Regions from separate parts of the Homo sapiens genome. Here region 1 is linked to region 2. Evidence: promoter capture Hi-C in 16 types of primary human blood cells and fetal thymus (Javierre and others, 2016). All regions are on one chromosome and are shown on one strand. The core of a region is centred on a gene start or on the middle of the fragment in contact, and the rest is flanking DNA. Distances in the headings are between cores, read along the strand shown. Region 1 overlaps LINC02823 (long intergenic non-protein coding RNA 2823). Region 2 holds the start of CCER1 (coiled-coil glutamate rich protein 1).

Region 1 (6,934 bases), core at 1,025-3,524, 380 kb before region 2:
ATGTTCTTACTCAAGTCCTCTCTATTCCTCTTCCCATTGCTCTTGAACCTTACCTTCCTGGGTTAAACCACACATAGTCATCATATATTACTGGATTTGACTTGCTAAAATTTGGGTAGCATATCTATCTATTTTTGCATATTTATTCATGAAAAATATTGGTATGTAATGTTCTTTTATGTTAACATTTTTGTCTGGTTTTGATATCTGTATAATTCCACTAATACATCATGACCAGGTAGTAATTATCCTGGATGTAAGGTTGTTTTAACATTCAAAAATGTATCAGATAAAATCACCATATTATAAACTGAAAGGAACAAACCAAATCAACACTATTATTAATGAGATAAAGCATTTGAAAAAAATCCAACATTCATTCCTGACAATATGTCAACAAAGTAGAAATGGCAGGTAACTTTCTCAACCTGATAAAGTTCAGATATAAAAAAATATACAACTAATATCTTGTTTAATAGTGAAAGACTTAAAGCTTTCTCCCAAGATTAGGAAAAATACAAAGGTGTCTGGTCTTATCAATTTTGTTTAACATTAAAACAGAGGCCCTAGCCAGTGCAATAAGATAAAGAAATTAAAACTAAAGGCACTCATGTCACTAAGAAATAAGTAAAACTTTATTCAAACATTTTATAAAAAATGTAATGAAATATATAAAATGATATTAGAACCTATGAGTTTGACAAACTTATAGATTATATAAAAATCAGTTATATTTCTATATGTTAGCAACCAACAATCAAAAATTAAAAATAAAAAATTGTACCATATGTATTAACAGCAAAAATATGAAGTTATTAAGGAAAAATCTGATAAAACACCAAAAAAATCTGTGCACTGAAAACTGCCTAAAATTGCAGACAGAAATTACTGAAGGTCTAAGTATACTGAGACCCATACTATACCCATGGGTCTTTAGTACTAGTTTTTGTTTTGTTTTGATTTGGCAGAAAATGAAAAAAAAATTTCTAAAATTCACAGGGAAATGCAGTAATCTAGAGAAGCCAAAACATCTTTGAAATAGAAGAACCAAGTGGGAGGACTAACACTATCTAATATCAAGACTTCTTATAATGTGATTTTAATCAAGGCAATGTTGTATTTGTACAAATATTAGAAATAGATCAATGGAATAAAACAGAGATTCCAAAAATAGAGCTACACGTATATGGACAGTGATATTCTTTAAAAGGTGTAAAAGCAGGTCAAAGGAGAAAGAATCATATTCTCATTAGATGATGTTGGAATAATCAAATAATATGCAGAAGATAAAACAAAGCAAAACACATGAAAATGTCATCATAACATAAAATCAATGTCAATTCATTATTTGAACATAACACAAAATGGATATTAGACCTAAATATGAAATTTAATACTATACAATTTCTAGAAGAGAACACAGGATTCTCTGGGCTAGGATTTACTAGATACAACATCAAGAGCATGGCCTATAATAAAGTCAGAATTCACCAAAATTAAAAATTCTGCTTTTCATAAGACACTGTTAAGGGAATAAAAAGGCAAGGTACAGTATAGGAAAAAACATTTGCAAAGCATATATATGGCAATGGATGTGTCTTCAGAATATATAAAGAACTTGTAAAACTCAACAATAAAGAAAATAAACAACCTATGTAAAAATAGGCAAAAGATTTGAATAGATTCTTCACCAAAGAACATATACTGGTATTAAATAAACATGTTAAAAGACACTCAATATCATTGGTTATTTGGGAAATACAAATTAAAATCACAATGAGATAACATTATACACTAAGTGCTGGCTAGGTTATTGAAGATCTAGAATTGCCGTTCACTCCGTTATGAATGTAAAATGGTATAACCACTTTAGAAAATAGCTTGGCAGTTTCTTAAACAGTTAGAAATAAACTTACCTATTCCATTCCTAGATTTTTAGTTAACTAAAGCATTGTTCCTATGAAAACTTTTACATGAATGTTCATATCATTTCTATTTGTGATATAATAGCTAAAAACTGGAAACAGTCCAAATGTCCACGAGCAGATAAATAGATAAACAAACCATTGTATATTTGTAAACTAGAATACTAGTCAACAATAAAAAGAAATTTATGCTACACCATATATGTAACTGTTAGTGAAACAATTATGCTGAGTGAAAGAAGCCATTGAAAATAGGACACAATGTATGGTTCTTCTATCTCTACAAAATACTAAGAAATGAAAATTAACAAAGATTGGTAAAAAGCAGATCAACGATTGCCTTCTATGGAAGGAAGGTGGACAGGAGTAAGAGAGGGATTGCAAAGGCACAAGGAAACGTCTGGAGGTGATAGATTTATTCAACATTTATTTTCTTCAACTTTCATTTTAAGTTCAGGGGTATATGTGTAGGATGTACAGGTTTGTCACATAGGTAAATGTGTGCCATGGTGGTTTGCTGCACAATATCTTCATTGTGATGGTTTCATGGGTATAAATATGTTGATATACATATATGTTTATATATCATAAATCAAATTGTACACATTAAAATGTGCAAAATTTATGTTGAGCATGTTTCAATAATTCTATTTTAAAACAAAGCAAAACAGAAAACTCCACCATAAGCACCATTATCTATGTACCTGGACCTTCTGTTCCAGGCCACCTCATAGGTGTCACTGGTTGTAAGAATTGGTTGGCACCAGGTCAAGGGCTCACTGATGAATTTATCAGCTGTGGGTAGAGTATGGTGATGTATCCATCTGTTGTCAGCTTAAAAACTTCTATTAAGTAATTGTCTTAGGCTGAAGGGAGCTGTTGGTTTGCAGGCATTCTGAGGCTGGACCTATGTAGTACACCGTCTAATATAAGAGAAAATGGAGATGTTACCAAGAATAGGGATAAAATAAGCTAGGCAACTCTGAGACATTCCTTGCCATCTGTTGCCCTTTAGGCTGGTTGATGTGTCTGGTTCAGTTGTGACCCTTTCACACTTCTCTAGCACATCCAATACTCTGGTAGTTTCAAGTTTCACAATCCACATTCCAAAAAAATTAGATGTTGCTTAGACTTTGGATTTTGGTTTGAAATATGATGCTACATTTTATCAGCCACACTTTAACATCTGGCTAAGGCTACTAATTAATACTCAAGGAAATTTATAATTGTTCAGTAGGGGAAAAAGAATGTAAGTTAACCACAAATCCTGTCAGGATTGGAGAGTGAAGAGATGCCCATGTTTCATTGCTATGTAATACTCAGATATAAGCTCTCTCTGCCTTATACAATTTAGTTGTTCTCTCCTAAAAATGTTACACAGATTGAATAGTTATGTATTTATGAAATCTAGATGTTTAGTGGGCAGATTTTAAGACAATTGCAAAAGAGGAGAATAAGAGTTAAAACAATTATAAAGTAGATATCTTACATGGTTCCATAAATACATATTTGTTAAGCATTTTCTGTGTGCCAGGCATTATATTGGAACAGCATAAACAGTAGTGAACAAAAATTAGCTTGTTTCTTTTCTTCATAGAAGTTATAGCACAGGAAATGTGTACAATTAGACGTGTAGTTCATCCCAAACTCCCGCTCCTAGATCTTTTTTTCTCTTTCCCACATGATGTGATTTGGCTGTGTGCCCACCCAAATCTCATCTTGAATTCCCACGTGTTGTGGAAGGGACCAAGTGAGGGGTGACTGAATCATGGGGGCTAGTCTTTCCCATGCTGTTCTGGTGATGGTTAAGTTTCATGAGATCTAATGGTTTTAAAAAGGGGAATTTCCCTGCACAAGCTCTCTTCTCTTGTCTGCCACCATGTGAAACGTACCTTCCACCTTCTGCCATGATTGCGAGGCCTCCCCAGCCACGTGGAACTGTAAGTGCAGTAAACCTATTTCTTTTGTAAATTGCCCAGTCTCTGATATGTCTTTATCAGTGCCATGAACGTGGGCTAATACACCATACAAATTATTCTCATTCAGTAAGTATGTACTTATATTATTAATGTTATGGAGCATCTAGAAATGAGATGATTTTGGTATAAGATCTTTTTGAAAGTAAGCTTTTCCTCCTTCTCCTCCTCCTCCTTGTCCTTTACCCTTCTTCTCCACTTTCTTTATCATTTTCTACTTTTAATTTTGAAGTAATTTCAGGTGTACAAAAATGTTGCAAGATTAGAGCAAAGCATTCCTATATACTATACCCTAACCCAGATTCTCCAAATGTTAACCTTTACCTCTCTTGCTTGCTTTATAATTCTCACTCTTCCTCCCTTCTTCTCCCTCTCCTCTTTTCCTCCCTATTTCTCTCTTCCAACCCTGGCCTTTCCATAGGTATGATTACAAATGTAGATATAAGTATAGATGCAAATATAACTGTAGTTATATATTTTTTTCCTGAAACACTTGAGAGTAAGTTACAAACATGATACTCTTTACATCTAAATACATTAGTGTACAGTTTATGTCACTTAGCCACATTACAATAAACAAAATCAAGAAACTAACATTAATAACATTACAGTCTAACTTAGAAGCCATATTCCAATTCAGCCATTTATACCACTAATATTCTAAACCAATCCAGGATCCCATGTTGCCTGTAGTTCTCATATCTTTTTATTTTCCTTTACTCTAGAACAGTCAGTTTTTCTTTGCCATTCATGACAGTTACTTTTTTTTTAAAGAATACAGACCAGTTATTTTGAACAATGTTCCTCAGTTTGGGTCTGTCTGATGTTTCCTTATTAGATTTAAGCCATGTATTTTTGGCAGGAGTACAACAGGAGTGATGTGTTTTTCTCAGTGCAGCATGTTGTCTTTAGTGAAACAGTAATTTAACTGTCCATTTGGTAAAGGTGGTGTCAGCCAATTTTCTTTAATGTAAAGTTACCATTTTTGTCTTTGTAATGAATAACTATCTTGTTGTGAGCTACTTTGAGATTATATAATCATCCTGTTTCTCACTATACTTTTATGCAATAATTCTTTGATGAGTCTTGCCTGAAATAATTATTACTAGCATGGTTTCCAAATAGTGATTTTTCTATTTCTATCGTTCGTTCTACCTTTGTTAGTTGGAATTTTATTGTAAAGAAGAGTTTTACTTTCTACCCTGCTAAACTTCTTTTCTGAGGTCTCTGCATTCATCTATCTGTCCATCCATCTATTTTCTTTTTTATTTATCCTTTGCTTCATTTCATATGTACTAAATGTATAGTCTTATTTCATTTCTCTGACTTAATTAGATTTTCATAAAAGACTCCCTTAGTGATGTTCCTGCTCACTACTTTATTTATGTATCATTACATGTGCCTACTACTGCTTTCTATAGAGTTAATGAGTAATTTATATCAGAAAACATAAAAGTCCATTCTTTAAAATCTGTTAGAGGCTTGTCTATGAGGGAGACTCAAGCTTTCTAAGGTGACCTTCATCAGATGAATCTGCATATGTTCATGAACATATGTTTGGACTGTCTGTGCTCCTCCCCTAACCTCCTTGTCAAGATGATCCCCAGTTGGATTGTTGACTGAAACTGTAAGGCTTACTTACTATAGATTTGGTATTTTTATCAAGTTTGGTTGAGTGTCTGACTCAAGTCTCACTCTTTATATTTATTTCAACTATAAGATTTCTTATGTCTTCTTATGATCTCTCTAACATCTGTCCATGGTCTGATCAGATTTGAACTTCCCAGATTTGAGATTTTAGTGACACATACAAAGATTATGGAATAAAAATAACATAATCAGAGATGCCATTTATTCAGTGCTTAATGTGTATCCCAGGTACTTTACATATAATATTTAAAAATCTCATAAAACCCTATAAGATCCATGTGTATATCTCAATTTTTAAAAAGTCTTTTGCCTGGTGTTCAGAGAAGCTAAATAATCGGACTGAGCTCGAAGCTAACAAGTAGAAGGGCTGGCATTCAAATACAGGTTTGTCCTAATGGAAAAGGCCATTTTTTCCGTTTGCATTAAACATTGATAATATATCTGTTAACAGTGATAAATATACACAGGAATAATAATGATAGTATATGAAATTATTAAGAATAAAAACTGTAGAGATTCTGTGGCAGAAAAATGAAGTTCTCTTCTTCCCAAAGTGCAGCAGAGTACTCAAATTGCAAGTGTTTATTTATTTTATTTGGCTTTACTTGTTTTGTTCCACTTCTTGCTTTCCTCCTTTGTAGAATCAGTATACTTAAAAATCTACACACATGCTCAAGAAATTATGAAGAAGCCTTAAAATCCATAAAAGCCATAATAATGATAATGTTACTTTATCCCCATGAAGATTTATACCTAGCGCCAAGATTTATACCTAGCACCAAGCTTATACATAGCTATAAGTTGAATATATGAAATTAAATTTTTTGTTTCCAACAGCAGGTGGTGGTGCAGGGTTATTCTATCAAGTTACAGGATTTAATTACAGATACTACTGTGTTGTTGAAAGTGATATGGAACATGTATTTTAATTTTGGAAGCATTTATATTACCTTATTATGATTTACTTTATAAAATAACTTCTTTGAAAAAATTACATACTCATATATAATTTTAGAAGAAAGAAAATGATTAGATATATACAAAATACATACCCTTTAAATCATTTAAGCAGTTTAGAACTTCATATAATTATGTAAATAATTTTGATATGTATTTTTGATAATATGATTTAATATTGAGAATTAAATATTTATATCAAATGTACTCTAAATTTATAATTATTAGAAAAATAATAGTACTAAATGGAGGGACTAAACAAATCTTTGTTATTTAGTAAAAGAATGGACAAAAATGTTTATTTTTGCTTCTTTAATTTCTAGATGATATAATGATTATCTTTAATCACTTTCTACTAAACCTACAATGTACTATGCATTTTCTATTACTCATCTATCCATATTCCTACTCAACTATCTTCAATGT
Region 2 (6,725 bases), core at 188-2,687:
CAAGTATGGTAGCACTTTCCTTGACGTTTTACAAAGAAGGACAAGAAAAGGACACAAGCCAGGGTGGGGATGCCTATTTTTGCATCAAGAACAAGTGCCTTTACATATACTATATCATCTCTTTTAGAAGTCATGAAGTATTTACAAATAAGGATGATAGTTAACAGTTACTGAGTACTTACAGGGTACCTGCACTAAGTACTTGAAGGAATTACAGTAAGTCCTCACTTAGCATCATAGGTTCTTGGAAACTGCTACTTTTAAATGAGAAGACATATAATGAAACGTGGTTTTGTTATTGTTGTTGTTTTGCCTCAGCAACGTTATAAGGAAATGACATTGAGCAAAACATTAATATTAGAGGACCTGTTATATGCATTTAATTCTTTACACAACCGTATGGAAAAGGTAGTATAATCATGGTATGGGTAAGGAAACTGAGGCTTACAGAGATTAATAATTGGTGAGTTGAAGTTGAATCCCATTTATTTAAATTAAAACCCATATGCTTAACCACAATGCTTTAAAGGCTTCCCGTGTATATGCTGTATGGTCAGTGAAGGGACAAAAGGAAAGACAATCAGAATATTCCTCTTCCCAAGGACAAACCTGTGGTATTCATTATGGTAATAATAATATTTGTTTAATTGAGGTACACATGTACGGTATATTACCAATAGCAAAGTACCTTCCCAAATGTTATGTCATTTAGTTATCACAAGGGTCCTACTGGGGGTTTGGTAGAACACATAGCAATGTCATTAGGAACCTAACTTTTGGGTCAAACAGGTTTAGGCTTAAATCGTAGCCTGGAAATTTATTAGCCCCACAACCATGGGGAAATTAAGCTCTCAGTTCCCTCATCTGTGACAGGTGATAAGATACGCCTACCTCTCAGGGTAGATGACAGGATTATTTGTCAGTGAGCACATGCAATAATAAATGTTCGTGGTCTTGTTTTATGTATTATGAATCCCAATTCTCAGGAGTAAGAAGAGTTGGCACCGGCCAGAAGGTAAGAGGTTGGGCAAAGTTTCCTTTCTCCAGTAATTTTCCATGATCCCTTAGGCCCTCCAAAGGTGTAGAATGTGGGGTTTTCAAAACTCAAGTTCTCCCGCCCCCACCGGGTTCAGATGAAGGCCCATCTTCTAAACCCCCGCCTCAAGGTGATACAAAGCTTTCGGATAAACTGCCTCCAGACTTGCTTGAATTGAGCAGCAGAAACCCAGCCTGGACCCCTCTTCACCTCCCCCAAACGCTGCGTCACAAGCCCCCTGCGAATGTTCACCTGGAGCCTGGTTCCGGACAGAACCCGGCCTTGCACACAGGGAGGACGATTTCGACCCCAATTGGCTGTTGCCCTGGGTGACCAAGAACGCAGTGGGCACGCGGGAGACCACAGCCAGTATTTAAAGGCTGCCGCTGCCCTCGCCACCACAGTCCTGCCAGGACGGCGACAGTGAAGCACCTGGGTTGAGAGGGAGCAGCAGGTAACTGCGCAACCCCTGCCTCCCCCGGCCCCAGCCCGTGCCTCAGCAGAGCCGGGTGTGGTGGGGACCCGGGAGTGGGTCTCACTGCGTGTCGCCTGCCAACACCTTCCTCCCCCACCATCCTTACCCAGCCCCAGTCCCACCCAGCACACCTGGGCGAGACAACCCAGGTGCGAAGGACAAGCGATTACTACCGAAGAGCGTGCAAACCAGGAAGAGAGCAGCCTCCTGGAGAGGAAAACGTGATCCCAGGGGTAGACACGTGGCGCTGCGTGGAGAGACAGGTTGACGAGACGAGGCTCTTCTGACCGTCCTACCTGGCAAAACTTGACGACAGCTTCAGGTCGCTACCATCTGGACCTCTCGGAGCTCCCTGAACCATGACTCAGACCCTCGACACAAGGGAAGACCCTCTGAACCTGGGCGGCGGTGGCGGCGGCGGCTGTGGCTGTGGCTGGGCACACTCGGCCTCCTTGAGCTCCTGGTCGTCCTGCCATCGAAGGCGCCCGGGTGCTCCAGCGTACAATAGACCGCACCGATATAGCCCCAAGACCGAGTATGGGCCCCCAAGGAAGCAGCCGAAGCAACAGCACGGCCCGGGCTTTTGGTTCCAACCACCCGTGTGCTCTAACTGGGGGTGCTGGGGAGGGCCCTGGCGCCCACCCCCTCCAGGATTCTGGAAATTCCCCTGCCCGGTGCAAGTGTTTCGGGTGTATGGCCTGCACCCTCTCTGCTTTTGCTGCTGCTCCTGCTGGAGCGGGTCCTGGAACCCTGGCTGGGTGAAGCCCCCAGGCAGGAAGAAGCGCTGGGGCCGCAGAGGCCGCGGCCTGCGCCACCACCCTCGCCACTCCTACCCGCGGAGCCCGCCAGCGGATGTGAGCACGCTGCCGCGGCCGGTCAAGCTGTATGAGTGGAGAGAGCCTGGCATGCGAGCGCCGCCCAACACCACCCAATTCATCATGAACCAGATCTACGAGGACATGAGGCAGCAGGAGAAGGTGGAGCGTCAGCAGGAGGCGCTGCGGGCGCAGAAGGCCACGGTGAGCGGCGAGGCCTCCCCAGCCAGATCCTCCGGAAACGACGCGCCCCCTGGCGGCAGCAAGGAAACCTGGGGACTGCAGGAAACTCTGTATGGCTTTGTGCAGAATCCCTCTCTAGCATTCAGTCCCAACCCAGAGGAAAACCAGTCTCTTGCCCCGCTGCTGGTGGAAGAAGAGGAGGAGAAGAAAAATGATGATGAGGAGGAGTATGACCAGGAGGTGTGTGATGCAAAGGAGGCGAGCGAGGAGGAAGAAGAGGTCGAAGATGAGGAGGAAGAGGTCGAAGATGAGGAGGAAGAAGAGGTCGAAGAGGCTGAATATGTGGAGGAGGGAGAGGAGGAGCTGGAAGAGGAGGAGCTGGAAGAGGAAGAGGAGGTCCTGGAGGAGAACGAGCAGAGAGGGGAAGAATTTCACTTGCCTCTGGAAATGCCTTTATCAATCTTCGTAGAGGCTGAAGAAAAGAGAGAGAACTTTATAAGCTGCACTTTTTTAAACCCAGAGCAGATAATTCCCAAAGTGCCACAGGAATCCCTGTTCATGGCACAGGACTTTAACTGTTAGACATCAGAAAAGGGATTGAGAAAAGGGATGGAACTGATTTGAGGCTAAACTGGATTAGCAATTTATTAAAAACTGATTAAAAAGTGAGTTCCATTAATAAACAGATCTATGTAAACACCTTCTTTGGCCATTATAAAATGTTTAAAATTTGATGCGTATGTGTATGACTATGGGTGGGTGGTGGGGAAGCTTTCAAATATAATTTTACTGGAACTGATTAAAGGCCAAGTATTTTATTACTACCATTTGAATATTTTCATTTGGTGTTTTCCCCTCTAGAAAACAGAGTTGCTGTTGTTTTTTTAAATCTGGCAATGCTGAAAAAGCGTTTGTTTTTGAAACAAATTTATACAACTTGGCCACTTAATGAGCTTGGAATCAAGAGATAGTTTATTACATGCGTAAGAAGCACATTCTAACGCTACTAAATGTTCACCAGTGCTCTTAACATAACTGAAGCCATTTTCAATCCCTGTATTTTTTCAACAATATTTTTCCTCATAGATTTTTCCACCATCAGAGTTCATTTTTGAGGGTTATATTTTGTTAACCTCATTTGCAGGCTCTTGTGTCATCGCTTATTGATATTCCTTGTTCCACAGTGCTATGGATCTTCCTCAGAAGAACATGAAGTTGCTTCTGTGGAACTGGTTATCTGCCATGGCCTCAACAATCCATAATCCAGTCATGGAGAGGATTCCCCATGGTCAGAAGTCAACTTGCACATCTAGTTAAAGTCCAAGGTAACTGCAAACAGTGGAACATGGCTTAGGTTTTGAAGCCTCGTTATTGGATATAGTCTTTATCCTAAGTTCTGAGGAGCCATAAAAATAGTTTTCCAGAATGGATTTTTTTTTTTAGATAAAAAGATTATCTACCTTTTGGGGGTGGAATATCTTATTTTGTTTTTGAATTTGTCTTTGTTATAAAGAAGAGTAAAACAAAGATGTGTAAGTGTGAGTCTGTGTGAGCTAGTTTCTGATGTCTAAACAGCAATTACCTATGGAGAATACATCATTCAAAGTAATAGCTTTTGTTCAAACATTTTTAGGAAGTAATAATACATTTCTTCCTGGACAGTTGATAAAAGTTCCATCCATAGCATATTTCCAGAATATCCCTAGATGATGAATTTAAACATGCCTTCTCAGAAATTAAATCTTTTGACTTTGAACCACAAGTTAGCATTTATTTGTTGAAGAGAAGAATGTGTGGTGATGTCTTACCTGAATGTTGGTTGTTACTGATATATTACAATTTTCAAGGTGATAAGCTTGAGCTATTAAATAATAAAAAGTATTAAAGTACCTTGCCTCTCATTTCTCATTATTGAAATATCACAAATCCATGCAGCAATGCTTCAGTGGCCAAAAGGATGAATAGAAGAAAGGGGGAAAAAACTTAGGAATTTTAAAATTACACCAAACATTCCAAATTGCAGTGGTGAATAACCAAAACTCTAAGATATCATTACTTTCTACAAGATGCAATTTCTGAATGACCTATAAAATTAAAAGTAGCCATCCCTATGTGTTTTACTGTTCTAATATATATAAGTAGAGGGAAATCAAGAATCCAGCTCCTGAAGCTAGGTAATAAATCCATGCAAGTCATAGCCCATAAATACTTTACTGATGACACTTAATCAAAAGGTCAAAGTTAAGTATGTTCTCACTGGAGAAGCCTTTTTTCATTTAGGATTGAATTTATTTACAATCCCATCTGGACATTTCTCTATTTCTTCCTGCAAAATATTTTAAATTTAAGAATTCACCACATATTAATTGCCTTCATATGCAAAGATGTTATTCACTAGTTATTTTAAGGGATGTAAACATGTGCAATGCCTCAGGAGTCTACATTCTTGTGCATGAACCATTATTCAGCAAATATTGAACTACTGGGGGCCAAGCACTGTGAACAGTGATAAGAATACAATGGTGAATAAGCAAAACCCCATTCTGACATTGTTATTGTTTAGTAGAAAAGTCAGACATTAAATGAGTTAGATGGATTGCTCATTGCAAGTGGTCTGAAGGAAATGTACCACTATAAAAACATAGATCACTAGAGAACCCAGGAGTAAGGCTGAGGATGTTTATCGTGGGCAGAGGGACCCCTAAGTCTAAAGGCCAAGAGCTGAGAGGAGCTTGATGCCTTTGAGGAACTGAGGATAGAAAGACCAGCATGTCTGGAAGCAACGGCCAATGACAAGTGAGAGAAGTATGCAGAATCCATATTATCTATTCTATTGACTTTTATGCCATCCATATCTTCTAGAATAGACACCAGCAAAAATTAATGAGAGGAGAAAACTATTAGTCATTGATGATTCTCTACCTGACCTTCTTCTTTTTTTTTTTTTTAACTAGCCAGATACTGTGATGCTTGCTTTACTAATCCTGATGGCTAATATGAAATAATTAACCCATGTTAGGGGTTGAAGGGATTGGTCATCCCGGGACACCCACCATTCTAACCAACCACTATCATGTAATGAGGGGGATCTTAGGGTTTCTTGCTCAGCATGATTGGAGCACCATAGTTCTCAACTCCCATGGAGAGCCTCTTGCACAGTTTTAGTTTTAGAGGTATGTGTACACATGAAGAGAAAATACAATTTTCCAAAATAAATTCATTATTATTAAAATTATTTCAAACTTTATTGGGTGAGCACAGTGAGGATGAGGTGCCAGTTAGGCATTTCTTTCAAGAATGGAGCTATTCTGCCAGTTGTCAGAAAAATAACGTTATAAATCATAAAACATGATTATAGGGCCTGGACTTGATAAGCGTTGTTGCTGTCTATTCTGAGGTTTTTTTTCTCATGTGGAGATTCTGGCATTTTCATCCTCTAGAGACTGACAGCATTTCTTGATTTGTCTTCATTACTTTGTCTCCACAGTAACCTCGAGGAATTTTATTTGATGTGAAAATATTAGCCCTCTAAAGATGGTAAATACACTTGACATCTAGAGATCAACTCTGAACTCTGAGTATGATTTTATAAAATTGTAGAACATCCGTATATGAGGAAGACAGTATTTGTAACATATTTAGTTCTATTAAAATAAATGTAGAGGTGAAATGACTAATCTCCTCCAGTTAACACAAACCTACAGATCTGGGAAATAAATGATACATCTCCTATAGGTGACCTTGGGTTAAGGGAGTCGATAAGACTAAAAAAAGTCCTTAAATTACAGGTTTTTTTAGCAGCGTAATAAAATGATACATGCAGCCATGTTTTGTATTCAATAAGGTTTATGTTAATGTAAGACAACCGAAAATTACTCAATGTTGTCATATCACCTTGGCCTTGATTATCTATATATTAAAATCAAAATCAGAATGTGGCTATCTTAGCTGTTTCAGTAGCTAAGTAGCATTTTTCTTTATTTAGTTTTAGTTAATTAGTGGAATACAGTCCAATGTCAAGGTCGGCTAATGGAAGAGAAGATTTGGATGTGGCATGGGAAGGCCTGGATGTGTGTTGTCCTGCTGCCTAAGTGACCTGTGATGGTGGCCACTTGCCTTGGGTTTCTCTTTCCTCAGTGTTAGTGATTATACTTTATCACTTAGGTATATTGTGAAGACAAAATACTCAATATTTAAGAAGAATTGTATTATAACT

The links. The method cuts DNA at HindIII sites, captures the fragments that hold promoters and counts their contacts. A CHiCAGO score of 5 or more calls a contact.
Region 1: a fragment that was not itself captured here is called in contact with the fragment with the promoter of CCER1 in region 2 in 3 of 17 cell types (M2 macrophages, megakaryocytes and M1 macrophages); the score reaches 7.7 in M2 macrophages.

Annotation. Positions count from the first base shown.
Region 1 is chr12:91,331,971-91,338,904 of GRCh38, reverse strand. The region is part of intron 1 of LINC02823 (long intergenic non-protein coding RNA 2823); the gene reads right to left. The region is part of intron 8 of LOC105369896 (a long non-coding RNA gene); the gene reads left to right. Among named protein-coding and RNA genes, the nearest start is that of LINC02823, 8.5 kb to the right of the region's middle. The HindIII fragment of the contact is 3,558 bases long and covers 496-4,053 here.
Region 2 is chr12:90,949,888-90,956,612 of GRCh38, reverse strand. CCER1 (coiled-coil glutamate rich protein 1) reads left to right here and starts at 1,437. Exons shown (of 1, transcript NM_152638.4): 1 at 1,437-4,398. The coding sequence starts at 1,871. The coding sequence ends at 3,091. RefSeq lists an enhancer at 2,429-2,528. The HindIII fragment of the contact is 2,103 bases long and covers 1,180-3,282 here.